Linked DNA regions of Homo sapiens: region 2 is linked to region 1. The links are contacts of gene promoters, found by promoter capture Hi-C in human tissues and cell types (Jung and others, 2019). All regions are on one chromosome and are shown on one strand. Each heading gives the region's core, a stretch centred on a gene start or on the middle of the fragment in contact. The rest is flanking DNA. Distances are from core to core; before and after follow the strand shown.

What was found. The method cuts DNA at HindIII sites, captures the fragments that hold promoters and counts their contacts. A contact is called where the count stands out against the background at its distance.
Region 2: a contact is called between a fragment that was not itself captured here and the fragment with the promoter of CAPN11 in region 1, in 1 of the 25 tissues and cell types used here (spleen).

What each region holds. Positions count from the first base shown.
Region 1 is chr6:44,156,871-44,160,547 of GRCh38, reverse strand. CAPN11 (calpain 11) reads right to left here and starts at 1,728. Exons shown (of 23, transcript NM_007058.4): 1 at 1,684-1,728. The coding sequence starts at 1,699. LOC107986599 (a long non-coding RNA gene) reads left to right here and starts at 1,945. Exons shown (of 3, transcript XR_002956350.2): 1 at 1,945-1,963. RefSeq lists an enhancer at 382-551. The HindIII fragment of the contact is 19,752 bases long and covers 1-3,677 here.
Region 2 is chr6:44,286,497-44,290,319 of GRCh38, reverse strand. It overlaps DRC5 (dynein regulatory complex subunit 5), which reads left to right. Exons shown (of 5, transcript NM_182539.4): 2 at 2,402-2,771; 3 at 3,788-3,823. The coding sequence starts at 2,495. Among named protein-coding and RNA genes, the nearest start is that of DRC5, 9.3 kb to the left of the region's middle. The HindIII fragment of the contact is 7,555 bases long and covers 1-3,823 here.

The DNA.
Region 1 (3,677 bases), core at 479-2,978:
CCTTCTGGGTTCACGCTATTCTCCTGCCTCAGCCTCCCGAGTAGCTGGGACTACAGGCGCCCGCCACCACGCCTGGCTTATTTTTTGTATTTTTAGTAGAGACAGGGTTTCACCGCGTTAGCCAAGATGGTCCCGATCTCCTGACTTCGTGATCTGCCCGCCACGGCCTCCCAAAGTGCTGGGATTACAGGCGTGAGCCACTGCGCCCGGCCAGATCGTTTTTAACTAAATCAGTTTTATTTTATTGACAAAAAAAGTATATATCTGTTGTATACGACATGGTGTTTTGAAATATGTATTCACTGTGGAATGGCTCAGTTGAGCTAATTAATATCTGCATTACTGCACATACTTGTTATTTGTTTGTGGTGAGAACACTTAAAATCTACTGTCAGTGATTTTCTTTTTTTTTTGAGATGGAGTCTCGCTGTGTCGCCCAGGCTTGGGGTGCGGTGGCACGATCTCGGCTCACTGCAACCTCCACTTGCTGGGTTCAAGAGATTCTCCTGCCTCAGCCTCCCGAGTAGCTGGGATTACAGGCGCCCGCCACCACGCATGGCTAATTTTTGTATTTTAGTAGAGACACGGTTTCACTATGTTGGCCAGGCTGGTCTCGAACTCCTGACCTCAGATGATCCACCTGCCTTGGCCTCCCAGAGTGCTAGGATTACAGGCGTGAACCACTGTGCCTGGCCTCTCTCAGTGATTTTCTAAATGCAATACATTGTTATTAGGGGACTATAGATTTAAGGACAGTTTGATTTCCGGCACTGGGAAAAAACTAAGATGTTGTGTCAGGGAACTTTAAAAAAAAATAAATACTAATAAGTAATAATAATAAATAAATAAATTATATTTTGAGATGAGGTCTTGCTATGCTGACCAGGCTGGTCTTGAACTCCTGGGCTCAGGGCACTTCTGAAGAACAAGGACTGGGTTTGGGGTCACCAGCTAGGCCTAAACTTCCTAGGGTCAGGTAAACAGGGAGGGCCTGAGAAGCTGGGAGGCTGGGTCTAGGGGCCCATGGTCTCACGGTGCCCCAGGCTGAGGGTGAGGTACAGGGCTGACCTTCTGCTGGCCAAGGCTGGCTGCCCTCTGTGCACCCTAGCCCCACAGGAACAACTCAGTTCTGCCCAGCCCTCCCCTTCCCCCCAGCCCACTCTCCCCCATCTCCTGGAGTCTGGTCCCAGGCTTGCCTCAGGTAGTCCTGCCCCTGCCACCCTGAGGATCTCATCTTCCTGGGCTGAGGGACCTGCTTTTCTAGGCTTAGGAGAGGTTCTCTCTGTTCCCTAAAGTTTTCTTCTCTACGTGGGCTTTTTCACACAAACCCTTTTCCCCAGCAGCCATGACAGTGGGATGGCCGGCCCCTCTCCTCTCCCCAACTCCAACTGTCAGTGGAGAGGAGAAAGAGTTCCTGCCCGGCCTACCACCCAGTCTGACCACCAGTGGCCTATCCTTCCCCAAACAGTCTGAGAACGAGGCCCAGGTCCTGTCCTTAGGGAGCATCCAGTCTGATGGAAGAGTCACTCTCTGTACCCTCAAGGGGCATCCAGTCTGATGGAAGAGTCACTCTCTGTACCCTCAAGGGGCACCCAGTCTGATGCGGGACACAGCTCCTCCCCTGGGGGGAGGCTCTAGCCTGCAGGAGGTACAGGAGTGGGGCAAGGCCCCATGAGTGCCTACCTGGGGAGTACAGCATGCTGGTGGCTAGCTCGGTGCTTGACAGTTGAAGGTTCTGGTGGGAGGGGGAGAAGAGACCCTCCCCCCAGAACTCTCTCATTGCAGTGGGATTCCTAGGTCAGCAGCCGGTTTAACAGCTGCCTTCCCTTTTCTCCTTCTCAGTAACCCAGCCCCTTACCCAGCTGAGGGCTACCCGCTTTAGGGACAGATGACCCAGCACCCCTGCCTTGCACAGCCTCCACCAGCCTGGCTGTCCTCACTGTATCACGGTCATCCCATCAGGGTAGGTCCCAGTCCCTTTTTTTCAGCCCAAGGTTTCCAGGAAGGGGTTGTCCCTGACACACCAACCTGACCTTTACATCCAGAAAGCCTTCTCATTCCCAAAAGCCCCTTTCTCACTGACATGGCATTTTTCCTGTGTTGCTGTCTTCACATGGCACCCTCCTCTGTGTCTCTTCTTCTTATAAGGACACCAGTCATATGGGGCTAGGGTCCCATGCATTTCAGTATGACCTCATCTTAATTGAACGAATTACATCTGCAACCACCCTGTTTCCAAATGAGGTCACATTCTGAAGTACTGGGGGCCAGGACTTCAACATGCCTTTTTGGGGGACACGATTCCACCTGCAACACTCTCCTTGCCTAGCCCCAGTCTGGCAAGGTTAGGCCACTGGTCTGACCACATGTCCTGCCTCTGCACTGGAAAGTGGGAATGCTTTGAGCTAAGAACTCTGCTCCAGAGTGCAGTCTTCTCTGGAGTGTATGATGGCTGAGGACAGGGACTGTCAAGGTCATCCCAGTGCCCCTCAGCCCTGCCTGGTGCTAATCAGGCACAGAACAGGTGTGAGAGCACCCAATGGGATCAGAGAACCTTGTTCCAAGCTCTGAAACAGGAGCTGACCTTGGGCGAGCCCTCCCCCTTTCTCCTTTCTGGGACTCAATCTCCTCATCTACGAGAATATTAATTATGGTTTGTTATTATGTGCCAAACACTGGGCTAAGAACTTCCTACTTATTTAATCCTTAAAACAGCCAGAGGCCATGACATTGCTATTCCCATTTTATAGATGAGGAAAGTGAGGTCTAGAGGTATGATGCAACTTGCCCAGGGTCACACAGCTGTTAAGCGGTCGAGCCAGGATTTAAACTAATAACTTCAGATTTTTTTTTTTTTTTTTTTTTTTGAGATGGAGTCTCGCTCTTTTGCCCAGGCTGGAGTGAAGTGGTGCAATCTCAGCTCACTGCAACCTCTGCCCCCCGGGTTCAAGCGATTCTCCTGCCTCAGCCTCTCAAGTAGCTGGGATTACAGGTGCCCACCACCATGCCCAGCTAATTTTTGTATTTTTAGTAGAGACGGGGTTTCGCCATGTTGGGCAGGCTGGTCTCGAACTCCTGACCTCAGGTGATCACTCGCTTCGGCCTCCCAAAGCGCTAGGATTATAGGCATAAGCCACCGTGCCCGGCCATAACTTTAGCTCTTATCCGTATCTTCTGCTGCCCCCAGCTGTGAAAGGAGGAAGTGGTCTTTGGGGATCCTGTGGTCTCCCCTGCCCACTCCTGATTCCACTATTGCACCTCTTGGATGCCTCTAATGTGATCTGCCTGGACATGAACTCTGTGACGAGGTGCCAGGGGTAGGGTGCAGGCAGGCACGGGTGTTCCTCTCTATTACAGCCTCCCACCCTGGGGGAGGGCTGTCCTCAGGACTCTTGCTCAGTGTGCTGCTTGGGCATTATCTGGAGTTTCACATTTGGAAATGCTGGAACCTGGCTTTGAACTTCAGGCCCTGCAGGAAAGGGAAGGCATGCTGGGCAGATGAGGAATGAGAGGGTCTCGGCTAACCAGAGGTGGGGGCTGAGGTCTGTCCAGGCCATGCTTTGCAGACAAGGGGGCTTGCCAGGCAAATGGCGGTGGTGTGCCTGCCCATCCATACGGAAAACAGGCTTCGGGAGCACCGAGAAGCCTTCACACAACCAAGGTGCTCCTTTCAAAGC
Region 2 (3,823 bases), core at 862-3,361, 130 kb before region 1:
GAAGATATTATTATCCAGTTTCTCAGATAAGGAAACTGAAGCTCAGATAGGTTAAGTAACTTGGCCAAGGTCACAAAGCACATAACTGACAAAGCCAGAAATGCAAAGTCAGCCGGTACCACTAAGCAGCAACCCCCTCCAGCCCTACACTCTGAGATGCCATTAGTCAAAAAGCACTATCTGGTTATTCCACAATTCTGGACACAATCTGTGTGTGAATTTGCATTTGATTTGCATAGGGGATGTCACAATACCTAGATATCTTTCCCGCACTATCTCTCTCCCTGCCACCCGCCTCTCAACCAGGCTTTTCCTCCTTGAGATGCCTGGCAGGCTGGGAAGCACCATCTGGTCCCTCCCTCTGCCAAGGACGCCTTTGCTGGTTCAGAGTGTTCCCTCCCACCGGCCACTACCCAGTGCACTGAGTCGTGAGGGTGCACATCTGATGGGAAACTGCCTGGAGGAGGAACTAGGTGCCAGCAGCCCCATTTGGGCTTTCCTCCAGCAGATCTCAGGGCAGGAGTGCAAGGGTGCAGGAATGGGCAAATGGGGGAGGGTCCCCGGACCAAGACACATCCTCTATCTTCTGTCTTCAGCCCCAGATTTAGCTGTCTTCTCGCCTCCCACGCTTGCCCACTGCTGTCTGGAATGCTGGGAGGCTGGGAGAGCTAGAGGAAGACTGGATGGGGAGATGGAAGGGAAGGGACCTGGAGTTTGAGCTCTCAGTGGGAAGGAGGAGAGAAGGGTGCTGGCACCTTGGGCAGGGCATGGGTCTTGTTCCCCTCTCCTTTCTCTCTCAACCTGCACTCTCTGAAACAGTAGCCACATTGAAACGGTAGGCTCAATGTGCCCATTGAGCCATCAAATTTTGAAGACCTCATATGAAAACATAGTATATAAAATGTCGCATTAATAATTTTATATTGATTATATGTTTAAATAACATTTTAGACATACTGGGCTAAATATAAAATTAATTTCATGGTCAGGCACAGTGGTTCACGCCTGTAATCCCAGCACTTTGGAAGGCTGAGGTGGGTGGATCACCTGAGGTCAGGAGTTCAAGACCAGCCTGGCCAACATGGTGAAACCCCGTCTCTACTAAAAATACAAAAATTAGCTGGGGGTGGTGGCAGGCGCCTGTAATCCCTGTAATCGGGAGGCTGAGACAGGAGAATCACTTGAACCCTGGAGGTGGAGGTTGCAGTGACCCAAAATCGCGCCATTGCACTCCAGCCTGGGCAACAAGAGCAAGACAAAAAAAAAAAAAAAAAAAAGCTAATTTCACCTGTTTTTCTTTTTTTTTTTTTTTTTTTTTTTTTTTTTGAGACAGAGTCTTGCTCTATCACCCAGGCTGGAGGGCAGTAGCACAGTCTTGGCTCACTGCAACCTCTGCATCCCAGGTTTAACTGATTGTCATGCCTCAGCCTTCCGAGTAGCTGGGACTACAGGTGCCTGCCACCCTGCCCAGCTAATCTGTGTATTTTTAGTAGAGACAGGATTTCACCATGTTGGCCAGGCTGGTCTCAAACTCCTGACCTCAAGGGACCCACCCACGTTGGCCTCCCAAAGTGCTGGGATTACAGGCATGAGCCACCACGCCCAGCCTTGTTTCTCTTTACTTTTTAAAATGTGGGCACTAAAGAAGTTAAAATAGCATATGTGGCTTGCATTTTGGCTTGCATTATATTTCTGTTGGCCAGAGCTGTTCTCAACCCCATCCTACGGATCAGGCAGTTGCTGTTCTATGAAATACTTAGTGCAGGGTCCTGTTATGAGCTGAATGGCTCTTTATTATATCTGTGTCTTTTGGCAATATACACCCCTCACCCTCAGAGGGCCGGTCCAATGTAGGGTTCAGAGCATGAATTTGACAGACTGAATTTAAACCCACCCGTGATACTTCTAAGCTGCATGACATTGGGCAAGTCAATTAGCCTCTCTGCTTCAGTTTCCCAGCAGAAAAATGGGAATAATACAAGCACCTATCTGAAAAAGCCTTTTCTGAAAAAGGCTTTTCTGAGGACACATGAATTAATAGGCATAAAGAACTAAAAAGATTGTCTGGCACAGAGCAATTACTGTAATTGCTGTAGAGCTATTATCTAAAATTTGGGGCTGCTCCTTGCTAGTTTCATGTGTCAGATACTATATTATGCCCTTTGGATGCATTATTTTATCCACTCCTCCAAATAATCCTACTGGAACTGCGACCTTCATTTCTCAGAGGCAACATCTGAAATTCAGAGAGGTTCAGTAACTTGCCCAAGGCCACACAGATAACTTGGATCTGCTTCACTCCAGGGACTGATCGTTAAGCACTATTCTGTACCACCTCTCTTAGTAAATGCCCACCAAGACCCACCAAAGTAACACCTCTACCCTCTTCCTTTTGCTCCAGATCCCTACCTGTTTCAAGGACCTGCCAGTCTGAGAAGCTTCTTGTCATAAGGCCATCCAGGGGCCACGCACCCCTACCTTGCCAGCCTCCAGCATGCAGGATACCGTAACGACATCAGCATTGTTGGACCCCAGCCACTCCTCAGTCTCCACCCAGGACAATTCCTCCACTGGAGGACACACTTCAAGCACAAGCCCACAGCTCTCAAAGCCTTCAATCACACCAGTCCCTGCAAAGTCCAGGAACCCACATCCCAGGGCCAATATCCGTCGGATGCGCCGGATCATTGCTGAGGATCCTGAGTGGTCACTGGCCATCGTGCCCCTCCTCACAGAGCTCTGCATTCAGCACATTATCAGGAACTTCCAGAGTGAGTCTGTCCCTGCTTTAGGTGGGCAGGAGAAGGCCAAGAGGGGGGCTAGGTGGGTGGGGACTGTCCGGAGCCAAGACTGCAGAAGCTGGGTCCTGGGGCAGCCCCTGCTCTCCCGTATGGCATCCTCATACCCACTCAACACTTCCCTTCCACCCAGGGCCAAGACAGTTTCTCCTTCTGTTCCCACTGGCAGGTCCCACCAGACTCCCACCCACACTGCACCCTCCATGCCTCTGCCCTCTCCTTGCCTTTTCTACTCTCTCCAGCAAAACCCAGCCTGAGCCATATCTACTTCCTCCTCCAGAAAGCCTTCCCAAGTGAACCGCCCTCTACTCTGATGGAGTCTTCCATGCCATGTAAGGGCTCTTGGTTTGTTCCATATTTTGTGCTCTGTAATATTGATCCTTTCCAAAGATGGACTGCCAGCCTCTCCTACCAGATGGGGCGCTGTCTGAGGACAGGGCCATTATTTCATCTACAGCAACTATCATCACCCAGTCTCACTCATTTTACTTGTTTATTGTCAGCCTCCCCTCACTGGAATGTAAACTCCAAAAGGGAGAGCCCTGTTTGCTTACTCTTCTATCTCCAGCACGTGGGACATAGTAGTCTCTCATAGTGCTACCTCCAGTGTCTGGCACATAGTAGGTGCTCAAAAAATTTCTTGTTTTGAAATGGATGAATCAAATAAGATTGGAAGCCTCTGACCTCAGGGATTGTATCCCCCATCAGACCAGGTGATAATTGAGAGTTGGACCTGAGAGTCTTCCTCAGTCTGGGAACTCCCTGAGAACAGATGCTGAGATGTCCACCTTCAGGCAGGGAACATCCCAAAGCTAAAGGCTGTGTCCCACCCTCTGCTTGAGCCCCCCTGAGAGCAGAGGCTGTCTATCCCCTAAGCAGGGAAGGGTCTCTCCTTTGCCTGGTGCTCCCAGGCAGGCCCAGCCTGAGGCATCATGTTGAGGTGTCCCCCAACACTGTGACCCCCTGCGCTCCTTCCTCTGTTCCCAAAGAAAACCCTATCCTGAAGCAGATGCTCCCGGAACACC